4 separate regions of the Homo sapiens genome follow, and regions 1, 3 and 4 are each linked to region 2. The links are contacts of gene promoters, found by promoter capture Hi-C in blood cells and fetal thymus (Javierre and others, 2016). All regions are on one chromosome and are shown on one strand. Each heading gives the region's core, a stretch centred on a gene start or on the middle of the fragment in contact. The rest is flanking DNA. Distances are from core to core; before and after follow the strand shown.

Region 1 (4,792 bases), core at 1,027-3,526, 560 kb before region 2:
AGTAGAAAAAGCCCTTTGTTCGGGGCTCAAACTTTCTGGACCTATGTCCGGCTGAGCTGGTGATCACCTTAATTTAATAAACTCTCCTGAACCTTTTCCGTCTCTCCAGTCTTTGATTGTCCTGCAACACAACGTCCGGTTTGTGAGCATGCACTGCTTTTGTCTTCTGGGCTAAGCCAGAACAGGCAATAGGGTTAAGCACCTGAAGTACATTTTAAGGAGAATTAGGAGCCATTGTTCCAAAAAGATTCTAAAAATGGATGATTGATTTAAAAGGTTCTCAGGGACAGTGCTGTGTACTCAACAGACTCCTGACCGACCTGCTTATGAGCCTTGAAAACAGAAAATCTTTATTTTGCAATAAAGGTGGGAAAAATACAACAGCTCTTTAAAAATCAATGATTAAAAAAATTTTATAGTTTTATTTATTTATTTTTGAGAGAGGGTTTCACTCTGTCACCCAGGCTGGAGTGCAGTGGCACAATCACGGCTCACTGCAGCTTCAACCTCTTGGACTTAAGCAATCATCCTGCTTCAGCCTCCCAAGTAACTGAGACTATAGGCGTGTGCCACCGTGCCCAGCTAATTTTTTCTATTTTTTTTTTTTTTTTCTGTAGAGACAGGGTGTTGCTATATTGCCTAGGCTGGTGTCAAACTCCTGGGCTCAAGCAGTCCTCCTGCCTTGAACTCCCAAAGTGCTGAGATTACATGTATGAGGTACCACGCCTGGCCGTTTTTTTTTTTTTCTTTTTACACAAATAATAGCATACTGTAGTTCCTGTTACATGCTTTTCTCTTTCTTTTCTTTAATTTTTTCAGAGACAAGGTCTTGCTCTGTCACCTAGGCTGGAGTGCAGTGGTGCTGAGGCAGGAGAATGGGTTCTGGAGGCAGGGTACCTAAGGCTGATTTGCACTGATTTCCTAGAGCTGAATCAAAAGGAAAACCCCACCTCTCCACACCCAAGTAACGAAAGGATCAGAGGCTACTCAACCCTCCCACCTTTCCACTGCATGGCAGATGAAAAATGGGAAGTTCCTCTGATTGGTCCCCTCCCACAACCAATCAGACTGGTCGCAGGCCACTTCTTCATTTACATCGGTTGTAATCAAGTAACAACCTAGAGGGTATTTAAACCCCAGACAATTCTGTAACCAGGGCTCTCAGCCACTGCTAGAGCCTGCTCCCACTTTGAGGAGTGTACTTCTGTTTCAATATATCTGTGCTTCCGTTGCTTCATTCTATTGTTTCTTTGTTTGTGCGTTTTGCCCAATTCTTTGTTCAAAACGCCAAGACTCATAATCAAGACCCTCCACTGGTAACAGCGCTATCATAGCTCACTGCAGTCTCAACTCCCTGGCTCAAGGGATCCTCCCACCTCAGTCTCTGGAATAGCTGGGACCACAGGCGCATGCCACCATGCCCAGCTATTTTAAAAGTATTTTTTATAGAGGCAGGGTCTTGCTATGTTTCCCAGGATGGTCTTGAACTTCTGGGCTCAAGTGATGCTCCTGCCTCAGCCTCAGCCTCCCAACCCTCTGGGATTACAGGCACAAGGCACCACACCAGGCCCATGGAATGCTTTCAATAGTGTATATCCTAGCATCTTACGCCACTCCAAGTGTAGTGCAGGAATCTGACGATACATTAGAAATGCAGAGTCCTGGCCAGATGCCGTGTCTCATGCCTGTAATCCCAGCACTTTGGGAGGCCAAGGTGGGCAGATCACGGGGTCAGGAGATTGAGACCATCCTAACCAAAATAGTGAAACGCTGTCTCTAACTAAAATACAGAAAATCAGTCGGGCGTGGTGGCATGCGCCTGTAGTCCCAGCTACTTGGGAGGCTGAGGCAGGGGAATCACTTGAGCCCAGAAGGCAGAGGTTGCAGTGAGCCGAGATCGTGCCACTGCACTACAGCCTGGTGACAGAGCGAGACTACATCTCGGAAAAGAAAAAAAGAAAAAGAAATGCAGAGTTCCAGGCCCTGCCCAGCCCACCCTGTGGTTTTGCAAGATTCCCAGGTGGCCTGTGTGTGCAGTCAGGATTGAGGAGCACCCTCTAGGTTTGAACTCAGCACACTTCCATACCTTCAGCCCTCTCCTCTCATAGGTAACTCAGCTCCCACCTGCCACGTGGCAGGATCTCCTGGACAGGCAGCCAGAAAGCTAGTAACAGCAAAGCTTTGTTACCTAACATTTCCTTCTATTTGTGTGCAGTACCTCCCCCTGTCATGCCCCGTGTGAGGGCAAATCACCTTCATCGCTGAATCTTTCACCTGGGCAAGTGCAGGAGGGGAGCCCCAGATCAGCTGCTCCCATCCATGTGAGTTCTGCTGCGCGGATGCAAAAGGCACAAAGATCCCAGGGACCCATAGGAAGCTTCACAATGGTTACCATCCACCTACTGTCAGTGGCCACTACCTTCCGTTCATTCAACCGTTTGGGGGACAGCGATCAAGCTCTTAGTGTGTGCGAGGCTGCGTTTGCGGGTACAGCGGGCGGAGATGACACTTCAGGTCTAGTGGGGAAGAACAGGTCAGCAGGGGGTACCCAGGAAAGATGGGGAGGGGGTGCCCAGCTCCGCCTATGGGAGGAAGGTGGGCTGGGGGGAGTGGAGTCTCCTCCGAGAAGCCCATCCTTTCCCGTGCTGCTTTGCAGTTTAGCATGGGGCCTGCATCAGGCTCTGCACTCCCACGCTGGAGGCCAGAGATTCATGTGAATTTCCAGTCGTGGGTCATGGCCAGAGCATCCTTTATTCTCTTTCCCAAGGTCGGGCTCTCTGTTCACCCTCTTCTGCCTCTGGGAGCCTCTGGACTCATTTCTTCCCTCCTGCGCTCCTCAGCGGGAAGTCTCCATCTCCTTCCTTCCTGTAGATTCCTCTTCTCCACGAGAAAGTTTTAGAGGCTTTTCCAATCCCCCAAGGCAAGACTTTGAATTACCTTTAGTTTTAGGCCCTGATTTATGTGGGTTTGACAACAGGCTTTAAAAAAGTTTTTTTTTGGTAAAATGCACATAAAATGTACCATTTGAGGTCTACAGTTCCGTGGCTTAAATCCATTTACACTGTTGAGCAACCATCACCACCACCCATCTCCAGAACTCTTTCATTCCGAAGCTGAACCTGCACCCATTAGGCACTCACTCCCAATTCGGTCCTTCCCAGCCCCTGCAGCCACTGTTCTACTTCCTGTCGCTATTAATTTGACTCCTCTAGGTGCCTCATCTAAGCAGGATCATACAGTATGTGTCCTTTTGTGACTGGCATATCACACTAGCATCATGTCCTCAAAGTTCATCTGCGTTGTAGGCTGAGTCAGAATTTCATGTATATACGCATGCATACACCACATTTTCTTTATCCCTTCATGTGTCAGTGGACGTTTGGGTTGTTTCTACCTTTAGAGACAGGTTTTTTTTGTTGTTGTTGTTGTTTTGTTTTTGAGACAGAGTCTTGCTCTGTCACCCAGGCTGGAGCACAGTTGCATGATCTCGGCTCACTGCAACCTCCGCCTCCCAGGTTCAAGCAATTCTCCTGCCTTAGCACCCCCGCCCGCCTCCGAGTAGCTGGGATTACAGGCGCGCATCACCACGCCCAACTGATTTTTGTATTTTAGTAGAGATGGGGTTTCACATGTTGGCCAGGTTGGTCTCAAACTCTTGACCTCAAGTGATCCACCCACCTCAACCTCCCAGCATGCTGGGATTTCAGGCGTGAGCCACCACGCGCGGTCTAGAGACAGGATTTTATGATTGAGTGAATATACCTGGATGCCTACTATGTGCAAGGAAAGCATGCTTCTGAGAAAAAAAGATTCATTTTGCATTTTTCTTTTAGATTTTGAGAAAACCATACCATTTAGTTATAGAAAAGTATTTATCTTTTGCAGCATACTTTGGCTGACTTTGATAACACTCAGACTGTATTAGAGATAGATGCTTGGGTCTGCCACTCTGAGGACACGGATCCAAGAGTGCTGCCACAACCTGCCTGTCTTTCTTGCTTGCTTATAAAAATAGAGATGACAGGCTGGGCATGGTGGCTTATGCCTGTAATCCCAGCGCTTTGAGAGGCCGAGGCAGGCGGATCACGAGGTCAGGAAATCGAGATCATCATGGCTAACACGAGGAAACCCCATCTCTACTAAAAGTACAAAAAAAAAATTAGCTGGGTGTGGGGGTGGGTGCCTGTAGTCCCAGCTACTCGGGAGGCTGAGGCAGGAGAATGGCGTGAACCCGGGAGGCAGAGCTTGCAGTGAGCCGAGATCGCACCACTGTGCTCCAGCCTGGGCGACAGAACGAGACTCCATCTTAAAAATAAATAAGTAAATAAATAAATAAAGCTCCATATTTTAAAAGCTCATTATAGTATTTAAGTAGCAGTGATGTTTGAATAGTCTTTTCATGCCTTCCCTTTTACTGATTTCCTTGCGAATTTGAAATTTTGACTGTCTTAAGATAATTTAGCACACAGAATTGAGCTTTACATTTTAATATTTTCCTGATTTAAGAGGATAATTTGCTTACAGCTGTTCAGACCTCTGATCTCAATTGGTAATGAGCTACAGTAGGTATGCTATGTGGATGAGCATGGGACAGATTTTAACATACAAGTTGCAAACCCAAACCCATGAAAGTTTCTATCACTTTTATGTCAGACTGAGTTTTTAACTGATGATAATGCCTGTCTGAGTATTCATTTTCTCAATCAAAATGTATTCTAATCAGTTTTGAAATCAGTTTTGAAATCAGTTCTATTTGCTCTAAATAACATCAACTTGTTATTTTTTTGTACGG
Region 2 (4,500 bases), core at 1,200-3,699:
GTATCTAGAATTATGTAAAGAACTCTTGGTGGGCAAAACCCAAGCCCTGTCCTCTCTCCCTCCTCCCCGGACAGCTTGAGCTTCACCACTTGCTCCACATTCTCCACCAACTACCGATCCCTGGGCCCTGCCCAGGCGCCCAGCTACGGCACCGGCCGGTCAGCAGTGTGGCCAGCGTCTATGCAGGCACTGGGAACTCTGGTTCCAGGATCTCCGTGTCCTGCTCCACGAGCTTCCGGGGCAGCATGGAGTCCGGAGGCCTGGCCGCGGGGATGACTGGGGTCTGGCAGGAATGGGAGGCATCCAGAACGAGGAGACCATGCAAAGCCTGAACGACTGCTGGCCTCCTACCCGGACAGAGTGAGGCACCTGGAGACCAAGAACCGGAAGCTGGAGAGCAAAATCTGGGAGCACCTGGAGAAGAAGGGACCCCAGGTCAGAGACTGGAGCCATTACTTCAAGACCATCAGGAACCAGAGGGCTCAGAGCTTGGCAATTACTGTAGACAATGCCTGCATTGTTCTGCAGATCAACAACACCCATCTTGCTGCTGATGACTTTAGAGTCAAGTATGAGACAGAGCTGGCCATGTGCCAGTCTGTGGAGAGCAACATCCATGGACTCTGTAAGGTCAATGATGACACCAACGTCACTCGGCTGCAGCTGGAGACAGAGATCAAGGCTCTCAAGGAGGAGCTGCTCTTCATGAAGAAGAACCACGAAGAGGAAGTAAAAGGCCTACAAGCCCAGATTGCTAGCTCTGGGTTGACCATGGAGGTAGATCCCCAAATCTCAGCACCTCGCCAAGATCATGGCAGCCATCCGGGCCCAATATGACGAGCTGGCTTGGAAGAACGGAGAGGAGCTGGACAAGTACTTGTCTCAGCAGATTGAGGAGAGCACCACAGTGGTCACCACGCAGTCTGCCAAGGCTGGAGCTGCTGAGATGACGCTCACAGAGCTGAGATGTACAGTCCAGTCCTTGGAGATCAACCTGAACTCCATGAGAAATCTGAAAGCCAGTTTGGAGAACAGCGTGAGGGAGGTGAAGGCCTGCTACACCTTGCAGATGGAGCAGCTCAACGGGATCCTGCTGCACCTGGGGTCAGAGCTGGCACAGACCCAGGCAAAGGGACAGTGCCAGGCCCAGGAGTATGAGGCCCTGCTGAACATCAAGGTCAAGCTGGAGGCTGAGATCGCCACCTACTGCCACCTGCTGGAAGATGGCAAGGACTTCAATCTTGGAGATGCCCTGGACAGCAGCAACTCCATGCAAACCATTCCAAAGACCACCACCCACCAGAGAGTGGATGGCAAAGTGGTGTCTGAGACCAACGACACCAAAGTTCTGAGACATTAAGGCAGCAGAAGCAGGGTACCCTTTAGAGAGCAGGAGGCCAATAAAAAGTTCAGAGGTTAAAAAAAATAAAAGAACTCTTACAACTCAATAATTTTAAAAATCCGGCTGGGCGGGGTGGCTCACGCCTGTAATCCCAGCACTTTGGGAGCCTGAGGAGGGCGGATCACCTGAGGTCAGGAGTTCTAGACCAGCCTGGCCAACATAGTGAAATCCCCTCTGTACTAAAAATACAAAAATCTAGCTGGGCGTGGTGGTGCATGCTTGTAATCCCAGCTATTCAGGAGGCTGAGGCAGAAGAATCACTTGAACCTGGGAGGTGGGGGTTGCAGTGAGCAAAGATCACGCCATTGCACTCCAGCCTGGGTGACAAGAGCAAAACTCTGTCTGGAAAAAAAAAAAAAAATTAAAAGTTCCCAAAAATGGGACAAAGATTTAAACAAACACTTCACCAAAAAAGATACATAAATGGCAAATAAGTACATAAAAATCATCTTCAACACCATTAGTCATTGGGGGAGGGGAGTACACATTTTAGTCACAGCAAGATACCACTACATATCCACCAGAATGGCTAAAATTTAAAGACCCTAACAAGTGTTGACAAAGATACGGAGCAACTAGAATGCATACATTGTTGGTAAGAATGTGAAATGGTACAATTGCTTTAAAAATCAATATGGCAATTTCCCGTAAAGTTAAACAAAATTGCTGTGACCAAACAATTCTATGTCTAGTTATTTATTCAATTAAAAAAAAAAGCAAGCACATGTCCACATAAAAACTTGTACAAGAATGTTCATAGCACTTTTATTTGTGATAGCCAAGAACTATTAAGAACTCAAATGTCCGTCAAGAGGAGAGTGGATAAATATTCCATTCTAAACCATGGAAGATCATTTAACCACAGAAAGGAGCAAACCCCTGAGGCCTGCAATACATGGATGACTCTCAAAAACATTCTACTAGGTGACAAAGCCTGATATAGAAGAGTATGTGCTGTGTGATGTCATCTATATGAACTTCTAGAACAGACAGGGCTCCTCTATGCTGATAGAAATCGGAACAGCACGGCCTGCAGGGGATGGGGAGGACAGGCGATGGAGACGGGGATCAGATGGGAGGGTGACCTGGTGAGAGATTTTCCAGCTGGCAGAAATGTCCTCTACCTTGAGGGAGGCGTGTGACATGGGAGTAAGTTTGCCAAAATTCATCAAACTGTGCTAAGATCTGTGCACTTCACTGAATATAAACGTCATTTAAATGTCTACTTCATTTAAAAAACAAAGAAGCTGATTGGAAGTGCTGAGCCCTTGGGTAGCGTTTTCTGACTGCGGTCTCCACTGCAGGTGATCTGGCGGATTGCTTCCCCGGGGGGTCACTGGGGGTCAGAGTGTGAGGATTTCCACTAGGAAGGTCAGTGGAACTGACCCCAACCAAAATGATCCCCCAGCTCCCCCCTGCTGCACGTGAGGCCTGGCTGCCGGTTTTCCGGGGGCTGCAAGGAGAAAGAGGCGGGGGTCTCCAATACTCAGTACATGCCCTGCTTTTGGAGTGGCATCCCCCAGTCCAGAGGCCTCTGCCAGACCCTTTCTTGATAATAAATCTTGGGGTTTCTGCCAGGCTCAGGGAGGGGCAATCTCCCAGTTGTGTAAGCAGTGGGAGTGGATAGCTGTCTCTGTCTCTGTCCCTCCCGTGAGAGGAAGACTAACTGCTGTTGTTTGAAACAATCCTCCTTCACTCCCCTCCAGAAATATCTGGCATCTCCATCCTCCCAGCCCATTGTTGCTTCTCATCTTTGCATGCTGCTGGCCGGCCATGTTTCAGCTTCTCAAGCTCACCTAGTGGGTTACGGCTCATCCACCAGGTTTCCAGTCTCCAAAATGTTGGTGCTTGGGCCTCCTCCCCTTTTCTCTTTCTGCTTGAGGGTAATGTCCGTAAAGTGATCTTTACCATCATTTTAGTGAGGGTTCAAGAAGAGGCAAATGTACATGTGTGCATCTGTGCCACCATCTTTGTCAGAAAGTCCAGTCTTTGCACCTTTTATCCTCATGGTTGCAATGTGGCTGCTCCTGCTCTGGGCATCAGATCCACATTCCAGGCAGGAAGAAGGGTGTGTGCCCCTGAGACCATCCCCTTTTATGGGAAATTAAACTGGCAGACTTCCTCTTATGTCCATGGCCACTCCTAGCTGCAAGGGAACCTGGTAACACCTATTTTTAAGGGGGCAAACTTTCACTCCAACAAAACAGGTTCTGTTTAAAGAGGAGAATGGATGGTTACACATCCTGCTTGGGATCCAATCACTGAACCAGAGGGGAACACCGTGCATGATGGGCTGGTAAGGCGTGGGGGTCAGTACAGCATGACACAGAAGGTGAGCTGGCTCCTTGAGGGAAAAACAAAGTGCTGGCCCCAGAGGCAAGGAAGGGTTGCTGGCGGGCAGAGAGGACGCTGTCCGGAGCCCACAGTAGATTCTCCTTGATCATTCACTCCCAGTTCCCTTCCTGCTCCTAGTTCAGTCCCTGACTCCTCTTCTCAGTGCTGTCACTGTCCCTGTCCTGGGACCAGGGTAGGGGATGGGAGGAGAGGTCTGCACGTTGCTGAGCCTTGTGGAAAGGTGACCGTGGACCTCTGGGAGGATGATCTCATCACTTTCTGAAGGAGGCGTCGAGCTGAGATGCTAACAATAGCCAAGCACGATGCCGGCCTGATTGGAGAGGCTAAAAAAAGCAGCTCATTCCAAAGCCTCATCAGGGAAGAAAAGGGCCACGAAGGCAGGTTTGCAGGGCTTTAGGGAGGAGGGGGAGAGGGATGCAGAGGGATGAACTGAGTGGCCTGAGTCTCAGCACAGCTGTGGCCATGGGCTGCCTCCATGTCCAGGAACACCAGGTCTGCCATGCACCACCCACCTGCCCCCATGTTTGCACAGGGCACCGGGGAAGACCTTCAGCCCTACTGGGCTACCCCTTGAGTACCCTCTCCTCCCACATTGGAAGGTCTTCTGCTTCCTGGAGCTTGGCCTGCCTCGGGAGGAGGAGAAAATGGTCCATGTCCCCAGAGAGCCCATGATGTGCCGGCCTAGGTGAGCACTCTTCGCACCTCATGCCATGGAACTTTTGCCACAGCCCTACCCACTTTAC
Region 3 (4,819 bases), core at 1,094-3,593, 580 kb before region 2:
AAGGCCATAGTTTACATGAGGGTTCACTCTTAGTGTTGTACCTTCTGTGGGCTTTGACAAATGCATGATGTCCTGCATTCACCATTCCAGGATCACACAAAGTGGCTTCACTGCGCTAAAAATGCTGGGCTCCCTTCATCCCTCCCACCAGACCACTGGAAACGACAGGTCTTTGAACTATCCATGGAGTTTTGCCTTTTCCAGACAGTTTGGGAGTTGGGATCATACAGTTTGTAGCCTTTTCAAGTTGTCTTCTTTTCCGTAGTAATATGCACTTAAGGTCCCTCCATGTCTTTCTGGGACCCAATAACTTGTTTCTTCTTATTGCTGAATAATATTCCTTTGTCTGGAAGTACCACAGTTTGTTTGTCCATTCAGCTGCCGAAGGACAGCTTGGTTGCTTCTAGTGTTTGGCAGTGATGAGTAAAGCTTCTATCAACATTCACGCGCAGGTTGTTGTGGACAGCTTCTGGGACATAAGTTGTCACATCTGCTGAGTCAGTGCCGGGGAGCGCAGTTGTTTGGTCACGTGTTAAGAGCACGCCTCCCCTTTGTAAGGAGCTGCCAGGCGAGCTTCCGGGGTGGCCGCGTCCTTTTGCATTTCCCCAGTGAGGAATGAGAGAGAGAAAGTTTATCATCTTAATGGCTGCGTGTTTTGTCTTATGACACACTATTATCTTTTTAAAGACCAAATCCCAAGCTTTGGACATTGAGTTTGTGTTTTTTTTTTTCTTTTATGATTATAAAACAATGTATTCACCTTCGAACTGAATGTTGGTACTCATCTGTAAGTTTTATTTATTTATTTATTTTTTCTTTCTTTCTTTTTTTTTTTTTTTTTGAGATGGAGTCTTGCTCTGTTGCCCAGACTGGAGTGCATTGGCGCAATCTCAGCTCACTGCAACCTCCACCTCCCAGGTTCAAGTGATTCTCCTGCCTCATCCTCCTGAGTAGCATGATTACAGGTGCCCGCCACCATGCCCGGCTAATTTTTCTATTTTTATTAGAGACGGGGTTTCTCCATGTTGGCCAGGCTGATCTCAAACTCCTGACCTCGTGATTTGCCCGCCTTGGCCTCCCAAAGTGCTGGGATTACAGGTGTGAGCCAGCACGCCTGGCCAAGTTTTACTTTAATATGAAATTCTAGATGTGAAATCGCCAGATCTTTTAGGGCTTTATCGTACTTTCTGGGAAGGTTGTCTCATTTATACTCCTAGAACCGTCTCTGACATGCAACATCCGTCAGAGGTATCTCCACATGCTATGGAACTTTAAAACATCATTTAAGTGGATGCATATTATTCCATTATTAAACATTCTCCCCTGATTTTCTTACTTTTTTTTTTTTTGAGACGGAGTCTCGCTCTGTTGCCCAGGCTGGAGTGCAGTGGCGTGATCTCAGCTGACTGCAACCTCTGCCTCCCAGGTTCAAGCGATTCCCCCTGCCTCAACCTCCTGAATAGCTGGGATTACAGGTGCCCGCCATCACGCCCAGCTAATTTTTGTATTTTTTAATAGAGATGGGGTTTCGCCGTGTTGGCCAGGCTGGTCTTGAACTCCTGACTTCAGGTGATCTGCCCGCCTTGGCCCCCCAAAGTGCTCATATTACAGGCGTGAGTCACTGCACCCAGGATTTCTTAAAATCTTCAGCACCTTTGTTGCTTCCATTTTTATGTCATTATAAGCAACAACTACACTCTGCATAAATTTTTGTCGAAAGTATAGATTATTTCTTTTCACTCGTATTTAGAGTGCTTCATTACAGTGTAATTTTTAAGAAAAGTAACTTAAGTTTTTGATGGTTTTATTTCATCTGTTTATTATAAGCAAGTGTGATATGCCGAGTCTATGAGAGCTGAGCCTTTACCTACCTGAGAAGTAAGGCATGCTGGTGTTCCACTCACCACCTCCGTGCGGTTGGCCAGACTCTGTGGGCAAGAATGTAAATTGCTATAATTTTTTTGTGAAAGTGGTTTGATGTATCAAGAGCCTTAAAATGTGTATGTTCAAGAATTGTTAATAATACTATTAATGATAGCCCCAAGCTGGAAACTGGAAACCGAAATGCCCATCAACAGTAGGAAATGGTCAGATAATTATGGTATCTTCTACTGTAATGAGGAAGAACAAGTTACAGCCACTGGCTGAATGATGGCATGAGTAAATCTCAGAAACATGTCGGGAGGAAAAGCTAGACCCAGAGGAATGCCTCCTGGAAGATCCCATTTATAAAGCTTGGAAGCAGGTGAAGTGGCCTGTGCTGTGAGAGGGTGGGGCAGTGGCTGCATGTGGTATGGGCACCAGGTGGTGGTTAGAAGGGAAGGCAAGGTCTGATGTGGGGTGTGCTTGGTTTCTTGGTCCTGGTGCTCTCTGGGCAGATGTGTTTCAGATATAGAAATTCATTGAGCTGTACACTTAGGATGTGTATACTTTCCTATGGGTATGCACAATAAAAGCTTAAAAAAATACATGTTTGTGCCAGGAAACTCATCATAGGTTAATGTCCATGATAAAGGACTTAGAAACCAGTATGACAATAGAAGAGAAATAGATCATTAAATATTGGTCCACCTATGTTGTTTTTCAGGCATAAAAACCCCATTTTCAAGGAAGATAAAGCGTTAGGAGAAAGTGTTTACAATATATTAAAACTGAAAAAAAGTAGGACTGGAAACTGTGTATATATATATATATACACACACAGAGAGAGAGAGAGCAAGCAAGCACCACATTTTATTGGCTTGCTTATTTGGTTTTACATTTACATTATAATCCACTGGAAGAAAGGACATCAGGATGTTAGCTGTTTATTTCTGAATGGTAGAAATTAAAATATTTTCATTTTTTTCTCTTTATGTTGATCAGATGTTCTACAATGAGTATATTTAACTTTTATGTTCAGAATAAAATCAGTTATTTAAGAAGAGAGAGGAGGAGTGGTTTCTGGGAAACAAAAAACAAGGTTGTTCTCCTGCAATTTGTTCATTCTCTGTTCCCATCAGAGCTCTCGTGTTGAAAGGGATTAAGGAGATGTTGGTGTCTTTTTTTTCCTTCCTCTGGATTGTGAGGAACTGAAGTCTTTAAATGAATCAGCAGTTCATTCCTTGAAGTTAGTCTTGAAGACATCAGTATTTTCCCATTTCATGGTCTGTCATTTTGTATTAGAGGAGAGTAAGACACTGTATAAATGGTATTTTGCAACAAAGTATAAACCTTTGGGTTGTATGTTTTCTGTTGCTTTATAGTTTAAAATGGAATGGACAGGAACGTTTTTAGAAATATGCAAATACATGCTCTCAGTGGATAGGCTTACACTTTGGCAAAAGTAACCTAAATCCAAGCGGTCATGAACCGTTGAGAATTGTCTCTTCTCTGGAGACACTGAGCTGGAACCTGGTCTCGCTGTGCAGTGGGTGGCAGGCAGCCTCTGCCTTTTGATTAATCATGTGCAGCTGTCTCCACACACTGCAGAGACGCTTTCTGCATTTTGTCTCTATTGCGCTCTCGAAAATTTGGCAAAATAATGCATTTCATTTGCAGGTGGAAGTGAGTTGGTCATCTACATTTGTGGATAAAGTTATTGTCATGAGACTCATTTCTTCAAAGCATTTCACAGATACGATGAATGACAGAGTGCATTCCTTCCTCAACGACATTGGCTTTGTTTGCCTCCTCAGTTAAATCAAGGTGTGAAACAAACCAGGAGAAAAAGAAAGATTATTTAAAATGAGGCCATCAGTATCAGGAATGAGAAGAACAGCTGCTTGCAAACTCCAGCACTGTGTGGCGTTGTTTACAGGACAGAAATCTTGCTTCTGTAAGTTGTGGAAAGTTAACGTGATGTTAACCTTGTCGGACCTTGTTTTTGTTCTGCACCCCTCCTTTGCTTAGGAGACTACCTAGGTGGAGAAGCGTACTGGGCCGGCGGCCTGCACCTCTACACCCCATTACCTTTCCGGCCAGGCCAGGGTGGCTTTGGAGAACTTTTCCGAACACACTTCTTTCTCAACGCAGGAAACCTCTGCAACCTCAACTATGGTAAAACTTGCGCTATTCAAGAAACCATTGTAGTACAGTTGTTTTCATGTTTAAAAGCACAGTACACAAAGAGGTGTCTGTCTTTTTTTTTTTTTTTTGAGATGGAGTCTCGCTCTATTGCCAGGCTGGAGTGCAGTGGCGCAATCTCGGCTCACTGCAACCTCCACCTTCTGGGTTCAAGTGACTCTCTTGCCTCAGCCTCCCGAGTAGCTGGGACTACAGGCGCGTGCCATCACGCCCGGCTAATTTTTTGTATTTTTAGTAGAGACGAGATTTCACCATGTTGGCCAGGATGGTCTCGATCTCTTGACCTCGTGATCCACACCCCCCTTGGATTCCCAAAGTGCTGGGATTACAGGTGTGAGCCACCGTGCCAGGCCATGTCTGTCTTTTTAGATTACATAGTCATTAAAGTTAGAGACTGTGCCTTACTTGAAAAAAATTCTTACAACAGCTAACATAATGCCCAGCATTAAGTGGTTGGTTGAGCGAATGAAGCATACAAGAAAAATAATCATCTAATGCCCTTACGAAGAAAAATCTGTTTGTCTATTTAATAAACAAGTCATGATGGCCACAGAGCTGAGTAGGATTGGGTGCCTTCCTCAGGGAGTTCAGGTCCAGAAGAGACTCCCAGCAGATGCCTGGGTGCTAGGGGTGCCTGGAAAGCTTCCTAGAAGGCATGGAAGTCTCCAAGCTGAGACTCAGAGTGGGGCTTCCCAGGTGGTCAGGGGATGGGGAAAAGTCATTCTAAGCAGAGGGAACAGAATATGCCAGGCCC
Region 4 (4,946 bases), core at 1,522-4,021, 710 kb before region 2:
TGTGATGGGAACACTCCATATCTGCGCCACCCAATACGGCAGCCGCTAGCCCCATGTGGCTACTGAGCACCTGAAACATGGTGATGCTACTGAGGAACAGAATTTCCACTTTTATTTCATTTTAATTCATTAGATGTAAGCAGCCGCCTGTGGGCAGAGGGTCCTACGCTGGAGAGCACAGTCCTAACCCGCCATCTAAGCTAGAATGTCGCAAGCACAAAAAGAATCCGAGCAAGCAGCACGGGGTTGTGGGAAAAAATACCGGACAGGAAGCGAAGGCAGGATCTAATTATCATTGCCTTAGCCACCAGAAAGCCCCCACCACCCCTTTGAACCCCAGTTTCTCCATCAGCAGAGGGTGGGAAGGGGCTGACAAGGGACCAGGCCCTTCCGGCTCTGACCACCTGCAAGTTCATTAGGATCTCCTACACCTGGGCACTGGAAATCCAAGGAGGCCCGTGGGTTCCCTGCCATGGCAGGTGAATGGGGCACCTGTTAGTCCTGGCTACTTGCCCCAACCCCAGCACCAACCATGTCTCCCCCATCAGACTGAGAGCTCACTAAGGACAGGCACCAGATGGGGCCCTCTCGGCTTCCCCAGCCCCTAGCAAAGCATCTGGGCACAACAGGTGTTCAGGGCTTAAAAGTCAGCATTAACCACGAGCCTTTCCAGCGTGTGTCTGGACGTGGGCTAAGCGTTCTCACCCGCCATTTTGCTCATCCTCACAGCCACACATCAGCGGGCCGAGGTGGTCTCTTCTCCCTCCGCAGAGACCACAGCTCAATGGGATTCTATGATCTGCCCAGGGTCACTCTGCTGGTAAGCCGCAAAACTGCATTCAAACCCAGGACTTCCAACTCCGAAGCCAGGTTCTTAATGTGTAAGCACTGATGCCTGCTACAAATCCATCCCCAGTAGCAGATGGAAGGAAAGGAAAAGAAAATATGAACTGGGCTACCAGAAGTCCACTTGGAGGGGCCTCAGAGAAGTGACACAAACCTCAAAATCCCTAAGTGGCTGAGACTTCCAGCATTTTAAAGCCTCCAAGAAAGAAGGCTAGGTCCCCCTCCTTCTTGGGCCCTCACGGTTTTCCAAGGGCAACGGAGCACCCATAAGGCAGGGGAGAGGCTGGCCGTGGACCGGGAGACCTAGCTAGACCTGACCTCTGTCCCTCAGCAACTGTGTGACTCCGAACAATTTGTGCCTTCTCTGAGCCTCTGAAAAAAAGGTGTAAGAGTCCCTCACAGATTAACAGCGATAGAGCACTTGGCCCGCAGGACTTAATGAGTGGCCACAGAAGCCAACGACACGCTTAGCCATTCCTAAAGCATTTTAGGTCCCACCCCATGCGGCGACTGGCATGTGCTCAAGATAGCAGCCCATCGAACGCTCTGTTCTCCAACCAACACCCTCCACTGAGAGTCCCTACTCCAATCTTCCTCAGAAGAATGTCAGAGACCTGCCCTCAGGTGTCTGGAACTCCATACAGCTACAACAGCCAAGCCTACAGCTTTTCCTGAAACTGCCCGACTGCTGGTCCGGCGTGACCTTAGAGCCAGACACCTTCTAAACCACGCTGTGATTGCCTCAAATACAGTGGCAACAAGGAAATCCCAGGGCATGTTTACAGAACAGGAAAGCTGCTACCTCCTTTCCCTAAAAACCTCAGATGGGGTACTATACAATCTCCTACCTCAGGTCTGGAAACAGACCAGCCTAGCTTTAATTCCCAGGTCAGCCACTCACCAGCTGAGTGACCTTGGACCAGCCTCTTCCCCTCTCTGAGCCTCTGTGCCTAGACTGTAAAGTGGGAATGACCACCACTAGCTCACACAGCTGTTATTGTGAAAGTGACGTCAGCTAATGCTGGGAAATGTGAATGCCCCAGGTCCTGCCTCGGTGATGGAGGCAGCCCTGAAACAAGAGAATGTACAAGCAAGGCACTCCAGGCGGGGACTGGTCCCATCCCCCACCCGGAGCCCAGGCTGGAAAGGAGGGACGTTACGTTTCCACGCTGAAAGCCCTGACGCCCATGTTATCTCCCTTCCCAGGTGAACACCAGGACTTTGCACTCATCAAAGGTTGGGCAGGATTCAGGAACAGAGAGGTTGAGTGACCTGTCCAAGGTCACACAGCCAGCCAGGTAAAGGGAGAAGCAGGGATGGGTGGCGGCCCTGGGCCCATCCTCCTGCAGCGCCGGCCAAATAGGCTCCATCTCCACGGAAGGGGCCGCTCCCGAAGGTCTCTGACCTTGGTTTCCCCAGATGAGAACCAAGCCCCTTCCCACCCCCACCCCACCCCACCCCGCCCCGCAGGGATCCGAGCATCGGGAGAGCGGTGGGCACGGCAGGGGCGGAGGCCAAGGGCGACCACCCGGCCCAGCAGAAGCCCCGGGCGCGGGCGCGGCGTCTACGCGGCCGCGCTGCAGGGCTGGGGCATGGCGTGGCGGGCGCGGTCGGCGCGGGGCTCACCGGACTTGGGGTAGGTGACGATCCACACGTCGCTGGGCCGCACCGGGAAGTTGGCGATCTCCTCCATCTTCCCGCGGCAGAAGGGCGGCAGCCGCACGCCATGGAACTCGAAGTACTTGCTCTCGAACTCCCCCGGGGTGCTGGGGGTCTCGGCCTCGCTCTCCGCCATGCCGCCGCCGTCGCCGTCGCCGCCGCCGCCTCCCGGCTCGCAGCCCGCACGCGCCCGCGCCCGCGCCCGCGCCCGCGCCCCGCACACGCTCGCGCCCCACCGGCGCGCGGCGGCAGCTCCGCAGGCGTGACGTCATGGCGCCGCCGACGCGCGGCGGAGGCTCCGCGGGTATGACGTCATGGCGCCGCCCGGCACGCGGCCGCGGCGCTGCACGGGCGTGACGTCATGGCGCCGCGGAGCCGCGTCCTCCCCGCCCCGCCCCCGGCCGGGGTCACCCACCCGCTGCCGGGGCTGACAGAGACCCTGGCCCGCGGTCTGCAGCCTCCTCAGTCGTGCGTGCGTTCATTCCGCTCATAGCTTCTGTCACTCAGCAAGCGCTCAACACAGACGCATGAGATACCCTGGCTGGAAGGCCCTGAAAGGTAGTCGTCCATTCAACACGTGCTTAGCGCGCTGCTGATCTGTGCCAGGCACTGGGCCAGGGCCCCGACACGCGTCAGGGTAGAAGCAAGCAGAAGCCTGGCCCTGTTGGAGCTTACATTGGTAAATAACCAAGATAATTTCAGGTAAATATTAGGTCCTATTAAAAATATGCGTCTTCGCCAGGCGCGGTGGATCACGCCTGTAATCTCAGCACTTTGAGAGGTCGAGCACGGGCGGATCTCCTGAGGTCAAGAGTTCGAGACCAACCTGGGTAAATGGTGAAACCGCATCTCTACAAACATACAAAAAAAAAAATTAGCAGTGAGCTGTGAGCTTGCACCACTGCACTCCAGTCTGGGCAACAGGACGAGATCTTCTAACAACAACAAAAAAAAAGTATGGGCCACCTAGTCCAGCCAAAAAAACAAAGTGCTTTTTTTTTGCTTTTTTTTTTTTTTTTTTTTTTTTGAGATGGAGTCTCGCTGTGTCGCCCAGGCTGGAGTGCAGGGGCGCGATCTCAGCTCACTGCAAGCTCCACCTCCCGGGTTTACGCCATTCTCCTGGCTCAGCCTCCCGAGTAGCTGGGACTACAGGCACATGCCACCATGCCTGGCTAATTTTTTGTATTTTTTGTTTGTTTGTTTTAGTAGAGACGGGGTTTCATCGTGTTAGCCAGGATGGTCTCAATCTCCTGACCTCGTGATCTGCCCACCTTGGCCTCCCAAAGTGCTGGGATTACAGGTGTGAACCACCTCGCCCAGCCAAAAAGTGCTTCTTAATATCCCATGAGTAGGGGAGGGGAGTGTTGGATTGCAAATTCCAGGACCCCAGATCTATGGAGAAAAATTACAAAAATATACATTTAGTAAGGCACTTCTTGTGCAAACTATAATTTGAGAGCAACCGAGTTCTAGAGATCTCAGTGCAACCCCTTGCCAGTCATGCACTCAACAGACATATATGAAGCACCTACTAACATGCCTGGGGAAGCACAAAGATGAAAACAACACAGCCTGCTCTCATTCTCTGCAGCCGAGCATCATCAGCTGTGTAAAGGAAAAGAATGATTCCTACCTCTAAGTAGTGTAGCCAGGAAGATGGAAGGAGTTTACACCAACAAGAATCTGGAGCAGAGTGGCTGGACGGGACCTATTCCTACTCTCTCCTTCTTACTGTAGAGTGAGACACGTGCATTCTGACACCAAAGACATACACATGGGCTGAGAAGCGCAGGCCATGTGTACATAGCAGACAGAGAGAGGAAACAGCAATTAATCCTGACTTGGGAAGCTTGTAGATGTCTTTCCAAAAAAGAAAGAGGACATTCCGAGCACCCAGCCTTTATTCAGAATAATTAGGCCAATGGCAAAAGGGCATCTAGCCAAAAGCTAGAGGGATTGAGTGAATGAATGAATATCCTGATGTTTCAGGTGAGGGTTCTCACTGTGGGAGAAGGAAAATGTAAGTGGGGAATGCGAGAAGGCAGGGAAGAACTCTATGGTATTGGATTGGAATTGGAGGTATTGACATGAGTTTATGATATTTTAAAATTCCTATTTCTTATATTTGCTGGAAAAGCCTTTAGGCAGTGATATCTCAATAATACTAGGCATACCCACTGCCCAGATCTTTGCTAAATACTTCCCTCACCAAATGAACCTGGGGTTTCTTGGAGAAAAAGCCAACTCCAGGGCAAGGAAAGTACAAGATGAGCCTAAAATGTCTTGTTGAGTCTTGAACTCCTGCAAGTTCAAAAATGTTGGGAATAGGTCAGAAGGACACAGGGTATAACATGAAAGTATTATCATAGGTCAAATCGGAAACAATTTGAGCATGTTAGACAAAAATGGGAAAAAACCCACGTACCCAACAGTAGAATAGA

The links. The method cuts DNA at HindIII sites, captures the fragments that hold promoters and counts their contacts. A CHiCAGO score of 5 or more calls a contact.
Region 1: a fragment that was not itself captured here is called in contact with the fragment with the promoter of LINC00207 in region 2 in 1 of 17 cell types (naive CD8 T cells); the score reaches 5.2 in naive CD8 T cells.
Region 3: a fragment that was not itself captured here is called in contact with the fragment with the promoter of LINC00207 in region 2 in 8 of 17 cell types (naive B cells, naive CD8 T cells, naive CD4 T cells and 5 more); the score reaches 7.0 in naive B cells.
Region 4: a contact is called between the fragment with the promoter of SULT4A1 here and the fragment with the promoter of LINC00207 in region 2, in 3 of 17 cell types (total B cells, M0 macrophages and endothelial precursors). The highest score is 6.6, in total B cells.

What each region holds. Positions count from the first base shown.
Region 1 is chr22:44,004,681-44,009,472 of GRCh38, forward strand. It overlaps a transcript of PARVB not described here. Among named protein-coding and RNA genes, the nearest start is that of PARVB, 17 kb to the right of the region's middle. The HindIII fragment of the contact is 198 bases long and covers 2,178-2,375 here.
Region 2 is chr22:44,566,891-44,571,390 of GRCh38, forward strand. It overlaps LINC00207 (long intergenic non-protein coding RNA 207), which reads left to right and starts at 2,450. Exons shown (of 4, transcript NR_028411.1): 1 at 2,450-2,551; 2 at 3,610-3,698; 3 at 4,486-4,500. It also overlaps the pseudogene KRT18P23. The HindIII fragment of the contact is 7,812 bases long and covers 1-4,500 here.
Region 3 is chr22:43,985,220-43,990,038 of GRCh38, forward strand. SAMM50 (SAMM50 sorting and assembly machinery component) reads left to right here. Exons shown (of 15, transcript NM_015380.5): 13 at 3,892-4,038. Among named protein-coding and RNA genes, the nearest start is that of SAMM50, 32 kb to the left of the region's middle. The HindIII fragment of the contact is 222 bases long and covers 2,233-2,454 here.
Region 4 is chr22:43,859,742-43,864,687 of GRCh38, forward strand. It overlaps SULT4A1 (sulfotransferase family 4A member 1), which reads right to left and starts at 2,772. Exons shown (of 7, transcript NM_014351.4): 1 at 2,473-2,772. The coding sequence starts at 2,641. RefSeq lists an enhancer at 588-1,087. The HindIII fragment of the contact is 4,757 bases long and covers 1-4,352 here.